Linked DNA regions of Homo sapiens: region 1 is linked to region 2. Evidence: promoter capture Hi-C in human tissues and cell types (Jung and others, 2019). All regions are on one chromosome and are shown on one strand. Each heading gives the region's core, a stretch centred on a gene start or on the middle of the fragment in contact. The rest is flanking DNA. Distances are from core to core; before and after follow the strand shown.

Region 1 (5,892 bases), core at 2,785-5,284, 280 kb before region 2:
TCATACCCTACTCTATAGAATTTCTAAAAGAACTGCTTCCTGCTAGTTTTAATAGCACTTAATAGTGTTATTTATGGTAACAATTCTGCATTTATTTCTGAGTCTTATTTTCTAGGAAATCTTGGAAACAGGCATAGGACATTTTTAAAACATTGTTTTGTTTATAACATTTTTAAAAATGTTAAGAGCTCAGGCTATTCGTGGTTTAATGGAATTAGCTTAAGTGGGCATATTGTTGTTGTTAATTCTTATAACCATATCTTTGTTTTTCAAGTTCTTTTGGTTTTGCTATCATGTTTTAACATACTTTTACAAGCCACTCTACTGAAATAAAAATTAGTAGATAACTGGCAAAAGATATTCATAACTGTGCCCTCCTCACACTCCTAGTCTTGAAAGACCACTATAAGAGACCACATGATGTTCTATAAATGCAATTACTCATGCAATAAATGTAGTCTTTAGAATATGCCTATCTGATGGACTATTCTTCTGGAACTCTGATATTACATCTGATAGAGAAACCGTATTAATCTTTTACTGTTGATTATTTGTGAGGTCCTCAGCATGTGGGAATTAAAGTTGAACTTTAACCTTTTGACAATCTGTCATTAATATATTAGAATAGAAATTTTCTTAAATATTGTAGTTGAGAACATTTATTGCCTGAAGTCTTTAAAAAAAAAACTTTTCCAAAATACCAGGTTTAAATGTAGTTTACATGTAAAATATCTAGAGAAAAAATGCTCATGTTATCATTGTGAATATAAGGAGTGAAAAATGTTAAAATCAGGACACAGTTTACTTTCAGGAAATCCTAATTTTTTTCTAATTATGAAAGAAACATTAGGCACTTGAAGTAGTTAATTTCCCCTAGCGATCTTTCAAGTGGTTACAGGATCTGTGACATTATTGGTTGTTCTGTAAAGCTCCTGAGACCACCCACTTTCTCCTCCCCTTTACCATCTCGGATGAAAACCATAACAACTCCACAAGCATGCACAGTGTGATGTGGTTCAGAGGCAGCTTCTAGACCTGCAGGAGGGAGATTGTATTCAGAGGAAGAGCATCATTTTGGCAACATCTGAAAGTGAAAACGGAAGCCAGAAACACTTGGCCAGCCCTGGGGGATTTTTTTCTTCTATGCCTCTCTGGTGGAATGACATTTGCTGTGTAGGCATCTTTCCTCTGACTGTATTTCTTGGCCTTGAAGAGTACTGAGTTTAAAAAGACAGTATGTGACAGTCCATGGAAATTGCCTCTTCTGTGAAATCTCGCCACCTGCTCCGAAGACATGTTGTTGTCTCCCAAATTCTCCTTATCCACCATTCACATACGACTGACGGCCAAAGGATTGCTTCGAAACCTTCGACTTCCTTCAGGGTTTAGGAGAAGCACTGTTGTTTTCCACACAGGTCTGTCTCGCATAGATCTCTGTTTAGTGTTGCACGGGGGATGTCTTCATTAATTTGCAGATGTTTATCAGAGGTTTTTCCAAGGAGACAGATAATTGGAGGAAAAAAGCTCTCTCTAATGAGAGATGAGGCTTAATTTAAAAATTGTTTTCTGTTGCTTCAGCACAAGTGCATAGTACTTTTACTTTTGGCAGCAGATTGTGTTGTTTGTGTTGATGGAAGGCAGAATTGTTGCCTTGGTGTTCCCTAGCTCTTTTCTCCATCACCAGCCAAATGTGTGAAAATCAGCACCTGTTAAATTATATTTTAGTTCCAGTGTTTGGGAAATAGGACACAGGTAAATTTAGAAGAATATTTCCTGTTCGCCTGTGTAGATGAGAAGGTTCCCATCGTTTTTCATTGGATAGTTTCTCAGTCAGATTTGACAGTTAATTTTAATATGCTAAAAGATTTCTGTATACTAAACACTTCTGACAGAAAACATCCTAATGGTTATGGGGAAGTAGTAAGTGAATCACAAATCTAGTTTTCCAATCTTCATAATAAAAGTGTGTGCAGTCTCAAAATACTTCCCCTGAGGTTTATGTTTGTATCTGCTTATTATTTTCGGTGCCTAAGATGAAAATAAATTTAGTATATATTTTAGGCACGTGGTGACCTGTCTGCTCACTTTTAGGGCATTGGGTTGGCCTATGTTGCTACTTTTGTCCTAGATGATTTTACAGCTACAGTAAATTAAATCAGTTTTATTCTGTAAAATATGTTAGCTGGGGTGTTTTTATATTTGTTTTGGGCTGAATAGCGTTAGGTGTCACAGGAATGTTTGATGAGGATGTAAATAGATTTTTGTTTCTGCTTCATGTGCACGTGACCCCTCGTGTTTCTTATTTTCCACGTGGCTCATCTCTGTCCCTGGTGATTTGTTTTCAGCTGACTATTTTTAGTTTTCCCAGAGGCATCTCCCTTCTCTGTGGGAGAATTCTCATTTTTTCCAGCACCTCTCTCTCGTGTTTCATAACTCCCCTTGACCTGTCATTTGATTTTGCCAGCCTCTCCCTTTCAGTCTGAGCTGACGGTAAATGGGGGGAGGCAGCGAGGAGGAGGTCAGCAGTGGCCCTCCTCTCCCAGCTCAGGGCCGCTGCAGCCCTTCCAACTGAACAAATTAATAGGGGGGAAAAATAACAAAGGGTGCCCTATATTTGCAATAATTTGTCTGATCTAAAGTAGCTCCAAATAGCTTTTAATTTTAAAGAGTTCTTTTAAAAATACTGTAATCCACGCTCCAAGTTAAAAATCAAACAGTATGGAAGGTTGTGCAGTCCTAGGCAAGCCTCTCTCTTACCCAGAGTCCCTGTCTGCTCTCCGTGGAGACAGCCGCTCTCAGCTGCTTGCATAGTGTTCTTGCACGTTTCCAGTCACATGTAAATCTATGCAGGTCTTTTTTATTCTTTTTTGTTATACAGAAATAAAAGCGTACTATATATTCTATACCTTTTTAAAGTTAATGTGTTTTAGATTTGCATGTGATCACATGTTTATCTACCTCATTAAAAAAAATAGTTCTGTAACATTCCATTATTGGGTAAGTCATGATTTACTTAACCAGTGCTCTAGTAGTAGACATTCTAAGTTGTCTGTAGTGTTGTTGTGAAGCAGATAGCTTTCCAAGACAGCGTAAGCAAACGACACAAGGCTTCTATTACCAGGGTTTAGTTGATAGTGATGTATTGGACACATTTTATTTTCTAAACTTACGTAAAACTATTTTCTGTTTATTTGCAGTCATAATTTTTTGAGCTAGAGTTCACATAGAGGTGATCTAATCTGTCTTATACCAGGAAGTCTGAGGCCCAGAGAAGTGAATTCGCTTGCCCAGAGGCACACAGTAAGTGCCAGAGATAGGACTAAAACCTGGGACTTCTATTTAGAATTTTTGGCGTACATATTTTCCAGCTGCAAATTTTGCTGTAATTTTGTTAGATCCAAGGAATAGCAGGGATGGAGGAAGCGTTTTGTGTGTTGGAGGCTTTTTAAAATCATGTAAGGAATATAATTCTGCTTACTCCCAATATCAGTCTTTGATGGGCTTATCCATGTTATGTCATTTTAACGTCCGAGAAATCGTCCGTCAAGTGGGTAATTCATGCCGTCATGGTGACTCTTATCTGAATGGACTGTCAGCAGTAACTTGGGTTGGTATCCTTAGTGAAGGAAGTGGTGTTGGTTGCCTCAGTGCAGTGGTGTTGACCTGGATCCCAAGAGGCCTGGATTGTAGCCTTGATTCTGCTGGTGACCAAGTGAATAGCCCTGTGCACCTAACCTCACACGGCTACAAAATAAGGGAACCACAAGAGATGACTTCCAGGTTCCCCTTAGCCTCCAAATCTGTGAATTTCTGGCTGAAGATTTGAAAACCCTCAGTGTATTACTCTGCTTGGAAATTCATCTTATCTAAATGATTTGTCTCCTTATTTTTTTACCTCCTAAATTCAGTTAATACTCATGAATTATCTGTTTCTTTTCATGACACCATGTGTCTGGTCATCAAACCCCACCTTTGGTTTTTGTTGTTTTTTTGTTGCTTTGTTTTAGATGGAGTCTCGCTCTGTTGCCTAGGCTGGAGTGCACTGGTGCTGTCTGGGCCCACTGCAACCTCCGCCTCCCAGGTTCAAGCAATTCTGCTGCCTCAGCCTCCCGAGTAGCTGGGATTACAGGTGCCCACCACCATACCCGGCTAATTTCTTTGTATTTTTAATAGAGATGGGGTTTCACCATGTTGGCCATACTGGTCTGGAACTCCTGACCTCAGGCAATTCGCCTGCCTCAGCCTCCCAAAGTGCTGGGATTACAGACATGAGCTACCACGTCTGGCCAAACCTCACCTTTGAATCATTACTTGTCCTGATTTATCCACAATCAATTGGTTGAAAACTCTAAGACTCCATCATTTGAAATCTTGATTTGTTTTTACCACCTGCCATTACCCTAGTCCAGGCATTATCATGTTGAAGCATTGAAACTGCTCTTCCTGGCTGGTGCCACTGGCTCACACCTATAATCCCAGTACTTTGGGAGGCCAAGGGAAGAGAATCACTTAAGGCTAGGAGTTTGAGACCAGCCCTGGAGAGTTAATGAGACCCTGTCTCTATTTAAAAAACCACACACAAAAAATTAATAGGTAAAAAGTGGCCAAATATGAACACTTTTGTATAATAAGTCAAAAGTAGCCAAATAGGAACAGTTTTGTATAATCCAGCCTAAGATGTTGACTGGGCTTTCTGAAGAGCTTAGTATTTGGTCTGTGCCTCCAGCCTTTCCCTTGCTTCTAGACTGTCTTTCACATTACAGATTAATTCATTCGTTTCATAAAGAAGTACCCGTTAGATGAGTACTGTGTACCAGGCATAATGGTAGGTGCTGAAAGTATGACTGGGACTAAGTCCCACATGGACCCTGCCTTCACACAGCCCACTGTTTAACAGAAGGAGACAGAGCACCAGTTAATAATGCAGGGTGTGGACTTGTGCCCAAGCAGCTCTCAGCAGGTGGAGGTACCTTTAATCCAGGTCCTCCAGTAGAAGTGCCTTTTAAGTTGGGTCCTCAGGAAATGGAGAATTTACTAAGAAACAAAGTGTTTCCGACAGAGAAAACAGCATGTAAAAACCTTGAGGGGCTTGAGGAAGGGCTCCTTCAAGGAAACAAAGGAGTTGTAGTATTTCTGAGCATAGAATGTGGTGGGACGGGGGCTGGTCATTGTAGAGATCCGGCCAGAATAAGCTTTCTCATTGATCCCACGCAGAGGGCACTGGGCACTCTGATATATTATTACTGGGTGGTATCCATCACTGGCAAAGCGTGTTGTTGGATCGAGGTTATCTTTCCTCTTTAAACAGGGGAGAGGAGGAAAAGAGTGAATTTGTCAGGAACTGTGCGTGATGTTGCAGGACATTAGGCACAGATGAAAATCTAAGAAGTCCAGTGATGACGTCACTGACATGGAGAAGGGTCAGCAATAGTCTTTTTACCAAAGTATTAAACTCGGTCTATTTCGGAATTCTACCTCAACATATTAGTTCTATTTTTATAATGAGTTAGTGGAGGGAAAAGACTTTGCTAAGAAATATTCCCTGCCACTTAGCATTCAGTTTTTCTATGAAGCTGGAAATTCTTGTATTAATTGCTATGAAGAGTGCCATTTGAACCTCACAGGTTAATTTCCTTCTTGACTCCAGTGAAGGCAATTCAGTACGCTAAAGACAGAATTCTTTCTGCTGAGCTAGTGACATTAAAAGTGATTACTGCAGCGCAAGGGAGGAACATGTGTACGTACGTATCGAGGGATGGCAGAGGTAGTATCAGAACAAAATATTTCCATTTACTTTTGCCATTTTATTTTATTTTGAACTTTTAGGTTCAGGGGTACATGTAAAGGTTTGTTATATAGGTAAACTCATGTCACAGAGTTTATTGTACAGAT
Region 2 (6,152 bases), core at 3,575-6,074:
TCCGCAGTGCTTGGCATTAGATGAACACTCAATAAATATTTGTCATGTAAAATGTCTTATGCTCAATTTCAGTAAATTGACACGTCCACCCTTAACAAGGAAGTATAATGATCCCTCATTTTTGCTATTAATTCTATTTTCATTTTGACCTACCTAAGGCATGTATAAAAATATAGGAAATACTATGATGAATACCCATATATATGCCAACTACTCAACCTGAGGAACAGATTTTTTTTTTTTACAGATATTATCGCTACAGATATTATCTGTCTTAGTCCATTCAGGCTGCTGTAACAAAATACCATAAGCAGAATGGCTTATAAAGAATAGGAATTTATTTATCATGGTTCTGGAGGCTGGGAAGTCCAAAATCAAGGTGCTGGCCAATTCAGTGTCTGATGAGAGCCTGCTTCTGGATTCATAGACGGCTGTCTTTTCACTGTAGCTTCACATGGTGGAAGATGTAAGAGGTTTTTCTCAGGCCTCTTTTTAGAAGGGCACTCATCTCATTCATGAGGGCAGTTTAGTGAATCCCAAAGACCCCACCCCCCAAAGGTCTCATCTCTTAATATCATCATCTTGGCACTTAACATTTTAACATTTGCATTTTGGGGAAACACAAACACTCAGACCACGGCATTTTTATTGTCCGCATCCCTCCTGAAGGTTCCACTTCCCAAAGGTCCCATCTCCTGATACCATCCACTTGGTTGTTAGGATTTCAACATACGCATTTTGGGGAGACGCAAACATAGCATTATCATTATTCCATCTTATAGGCAAGAAGCTTAAAACTGAGAGTGGTTAAATAACTTGGTTCAGGTCACACAGCTAACACGTGCCAGAGTCGTGATTTGAATATAGGTCTTTCTGCCTTCAGAACCCATGTTTTTCACTTTATCTGGTTTGTGACATTAGGGTTATTGATGGGACATCCAAGTAGAGGTACTCAGCAGGTAGACAGAAATATAATATGGCTTGTAGGAAGAGAATCCAGGACTGGAAATACTGATACAGGAATTATCTGCATCCAAGTGATGGTTGAAAGGATAGAAGTGGGAAGGGAATAAGAAAATAAGTGTCCTGGGTGCATGTGGTGACTCACGCCTGCAATCCCAGCACTTTGAGAGGCCGAGGTGGGTGGATCACTTGAGGTCAGCAGTTCGAGACCAGCCTGGCCAACATGGTGTAAACCTGTCTCTACTAAAAAATACAAAGATTAGCTAGGCATGGTGGCAGATGCCTGTAATCCAGCTACTCGGGAAGCTGAGGCACAGAATTGCTTGAACCTGAGAGGCAGAGTTTGCAGTAAGATGACATTGTGCCCCTGCACTCTAGCCTGGGCAACAGTGAGATTCATCTCAAAAAAAAAAAAAAAAAAAAAAAAAAAAAAAAGGAAATGAAATAAGTGTTCTGAAGACACAGTCTTGAACTTGAGTTGTATGCCTTCCTGAAGGCAGAACAAAATACAGGAGACTACTTTGCTGTTTTAATTATTTTTAAATGTTAAAATATTTTATTATAAAAGGTTTTATTCTTATATGTAATCAACATATAATTGCACATATTTATGGGATACAGTGTGATATTTTGATACACATATACACTGTGTAATGAGCTAATCAGGGTAATTAGCATATCCATCACCTCAAACATTGATCATTTCTTTGTGGTGAGAACATTCAAAGTCCTCTTTTCTAGTTATTTTCAGATATACAATAAAATATTGTTAACTATAGTCACCATACTATGGAATAAAACACCAGAACTTATTCTTTCCATCTAACTGTAATTTTGTACTCACTGACCCATCTCTTCACATACCCACCTCTCCCCGATTTTCCCTAGCCTCTGGTAGCCAGTATTTTACTCTGGACGCCCATGAGATCAGCTTTTTAAGATTCCACAAATGAGTGGGATCACACGGTATGGGTCTTTCTGTGCCTTGCTTATTTCACTTATAATGTCCTCAAGGTTCATCCATATTGTCACAAATGACAGGGTTTCATTCTTTGTGGCTGGATAGTATTACACTATGTATCTCTACAAAATGTTCTTTATCTATTCATCCATTGATGGACAGTTAGGTTGATTTCATATTTGGCCATTGTGAATAGTGCTGCAATAAACATGGGAGTGCAGATATTTCTTCAACATAGTGATTTCATTTCCTTTGGATAAATACCCACTGGTGAGATTGCTGGATCGTACGGTAGCTCTATTTTTCATTTTTTGAGGAAGCTCTATACTGTTTTCTATAATGGCTGTACTAATTTACAGTCCTGCCAACAGTGCATAAGGGTTCCCATTTCTTTGCCTCCTTGCCAGCATTAGTTATTGTTAGTCTTTTTGATCATAGTCAGTCTAATTGGGGTGAGGTGATAGCTCACTGTGGTTTTGATTTGCATTTTCCTAATCATTAGTGATACTGAGTATTTTTTCATAGACCTGTTAGTCATTTGTAGGTCTCATATTGAGAAATCTCTGTTCAGTTTTTTTTGCCCATTTTTAAATCAGACTATTTGGTTTTTCTGCTGTTGAGTTGTTTGAATTCCTTTTATATTCTGGATATTAACCCCTTGGCAAATGCGTAGTTTGCAAATATTTTCTCCCCTTGTGTAGGCTGTCTCTTTACTCTGTCGTTTCCTTTATTGTATAGAAGCTTTTAAATTTAATGTAATCCCATTTGTCTCTTTCTGCCTTTGCTGCCTATGCTTTTGAGTTCTTATCCCAAAAATCCTCGCCAAGACCAATGTCTTGAAGAGTTTCCCCTATGTTTTATTCCAGCAGTTTCACAGTTTTGGGAGGAGGCTATTTTAAAGCCTTGACTGTTCACAGAGTAAACACTCTTTTCATGCTGCCCTAGAATTTCCCTTTTGGCTGCTAGAAAAAGGGCAGAGCTGACTGCAATCCACTGAGTGCTTTTCCTCCACATCTTTGTTATAGGGCAAGGCCAACAGAGACATTGATACATTGCATCATTGAGTTCATAAAAATCCTGAAGAGAGGCCGCTTTTACTTTTTGCCAGGCAGAACCCCAAATGCAGCTCTGACCCTATCATACTGAGTGACTCCAGATGAGGCTGAGTTTATTCAGAGATGTGTTCCCTCCTCCACTTATAATATGGTCCATTTGGGTTTAATTACGCTGAATAGGATCGTATTGAGTTTGTAATAATTAGCAATACCATCCCTAAGGAAACAGGGTTTGGTCTCACTGCCAAATCAGAAGTTTGCCTTGCCTCAAGAGAAATATAAGTATTCTGGAAAAAGTCTTGCAAGTGTTTTTGATAAGAATTCAAATCTCCTCAGGCCATTGAATATCACAGGATTTTGGGAAAATGCCCAGTTAAAATCAAGGTTGTATTTTAAAATTCTGTTAGCAAAAGTATTTGCAACTGAATTATCTATGTGATAAAAGTTGCATAAGAAGAATTCTCTAGAAGACGTTTGGTAACTTGCAATCAAGTAGTTTAGGTCTTGCTTATGGTTAGGTGTCCCTAGAGATCTTTAAAGGCATTACCAACTCCCTCTTTAAAAAAATCACAAACACAAAGGTAGAGACAGTGCATTATTTTGACTCTCAAATTCCCTTTCCACTTCAACATAGTATAGGCTAGGCTCAATTCAGCGTTAAAGTTCAGTGGCTTTATGTGACAACAACAACGAAAGTGTTCTTTTCACTTCCAAAAGAATCAGCTGTGGCTTTCCAGAGTAGTTCTTCTAATAATGTAAACTAATGGTAAACTTGTTCTAATTGCCTCCCAAAGCAGTAGGAGGATGAAATGGTAGAAGACCTGTGAAAGAGGGATCTGGAATTTTAAAAATAAATTCAACACCGTATTAATTATTTGCTGGAAGGCTGCAATGTGTCCAGGTATTAGATAAAAAAACGGTAAGCAGAGTCTCTACGGAAAAAAAAAAAAAATCACAATCCAGCCTGAAAGATGAGTAAGAGCGAGGAAAAAATTGAACAGAACTATGTAGAATTCTATAAAATTTCACTTATGGTGGAGCATTGTACTCTTAGGGCTGCAAGAAAAAAAAAATGGAGGGCGTTCTTCCTCTCTTTGGCTTTTCCCAAGAGGCCTAACGCTAACAATGGCACCAACTACTGTTAATACCATCAATAGGGAAATGGTACCGCATAATGGATGCTTTGTATCTCTATCTCTCAGTTCAGTTGGAGCTAAATAAAGAGGGCAAATGAGCACCCAACACTGTGCCAGGGGAAAAGTGTCGCCTGCAACAGTGAAGTCGCAGGTGGATGTGAGATGCCTGACTTAGGAGCGCGCTTACCAAGGCGCTAACACTGCTGCTATTATTTCCACCCGCACCCCGAGCGCTATGCCGGCCGCGCCTGGGATGAAACACACACATTGAGCCTACAAGACCGTCCTGGGTCTAGAGTGTCTGTGGCAGCCTTCTTTTCTGCCCCACCCTGAAATCCTAGCTATCCCAGGACGCCCTAGAAGGAAGCCCAGGGACGGTGTGGAGCAGCCTGTACTCCCCATCTCTCTTCCAGGAGGCCACACCCAAAACAAGGCCCTCTTTGTGTCTCGGAGAACAGTGGCCGTATAGTGCTCCGCCGGCTGCCCCTGTTAAGAGAGAGCGAGCAGCCCTCGCCCCGGCAACCCCAGGCAGAGGCGCGTCGCGGCGGCGGCGCAGGTGGGCGCAGGCGCGGAGGTGGGCTCTCTAGGGCCGCGCGGGAGCCCCGGGTCCGCACGCCGCGCGCGGAACACCTGGGGGCGGAGCCAAGACCGCGTCCCGCCCACTCCCGGGCGCGAAGCCCCCTCCCCGCGCCCCTCCCATCGCGCCGCAGAGGCGCGCAGGTGCGTGAGGCCGCGCCCGCCCGGGACCCTGCAGACGTGGGCCAGCCATGGAGCACATCCGTACGCCCAAGGTTGGTGACACCAGCGCGGGCGGAGGAGGGACGGGAGGAGATGGGGGAGGAGGAGGAGGGATGCTGAGCGCGCGGGAGGCCGACTGCTTTGAGGGGCACCGGCGGAGCCTGGACCGCGGGCGAGGGAGGAGCAGGCATTGCCTGAGCATCCCGGGGTGCCTGCGAGCCCGGTCGTTCTCTTGCTGCCTCCCAGGCCTAGCCTTAGCTGCTGCTGGGTCTGACCTCTTGGTTTTGGGGGAGCGCAGTGGACACAAGGGTGAACGGGAGGGAACCTCAGTTGTCTGCTAGTAACTGGGTGTAGATCAACCCTTCTTTCTCCTGGCACGAGGCTTTCTCTTTTAGCTGTTGGCCGCTCAGAGTAGTTGAAAGGGAAATAAGCCTTTCGGTGACAGGTGCAAGGAAAACGAGCTAAATGCAGAGGGACTCCTGCGCTTGGAAGCTTGTTAAATCTAGGGTGTCAGGCCCACCCGGCTCGGCCTTCCCAGTCAGCATCCTCATCCTGAGCGTAGCAGCTGCAAGGGGCCTTACACAGAACGGATAATCAATATTCATTGTAGGTTGAATGATGGTGTGTTCTTGCCTTTTCCAGTCCGTTTTGTTCGTTAGAGAAAAGGATGCAGCTTACGGATTCGTCACGCACTGTTGTGTTTTAACAACACCAGCTTTTGCTAATTAACAAAAGCAAATGGTCCCTGATCACTCCAGTAAATTAACATTGGAAACGTTGATCGCTGTACCAAATCTTCCTCCTCAGTTGTACTGATAATCTAATTTAGAATGAAAATGATGATCGACGTTACTGCATGATAAAAACCCTAAACGAGTGAAAGAATATGCTTAAAAACCCTATTGGCTGTCTGTTGTTACTACCACCACAGCTCCTTGCGTTTTTGCAGGATGAACTTCCATTCAAAATGTAGGCCCCTGACAGGTCAAAGCTAGGTCAGAGTGGCCATAGCTCAGGTGGTTCCAGGGATCCCACACATTTAAGAGGGGTGGGGGCAATTGCTTTATGGCCAGCAAGAATTGATTCCTAAATTTTGGAATAGTTCCTGAGTACCTTTTTGTAAAAGCAGATTAAAATGATCTCATGTCATTGGAAGAAGAAATCTTTTAGTTTGCTGGAGAATGTCAGTTCCGACAGTAAATTTAAATTGTATTGATTTTGCACTAGGGAATTAAGTTGTCGCTTCACAATCATGAAATTGTAAACTTAGAAGACAATGCTACAAACCACAGAATAGGT

What was found. Contacts are between HindIII fragments. The study calls those that stand out against the background at their distance.
Region 1: a contact is called between a fragment that was not itself captured here and the fragment with the promoter of MTMR7 in region 2, in 2 of the 25 tissues and cell types used here (dorsolateral prefrontal cortex and hippocampus).

Annotation. Positions count from the first base shown.
Region 1 is chr8:17,692,780-17,698,671 of GRCh38, reverse strand. All of the region lies in intron 6 of MTUS1 (microtubule associated scaffold protein 1), which reads left to right. Among named protein-coding and RNA genes, the nearest start is that of MIR548V, 14 kb to the right of the region's middle. The HindIII fragment of the contact is 6,124 bases long and covers 973-5,892 here.
Region 2 is chr8:17,412,023-17,418,174 of GRCh38, reverse strand. MTMR7 (myotubularin related protein 7) reads left to right here and starts at 4,824. Exons shown (of 14, transcript NM_004686.5): 1 at 4,824-4,906. The coding sequence starts at 4,883. The HindIII fragment of the contact is 4,025 bases long and covers 1,729-5,753 here.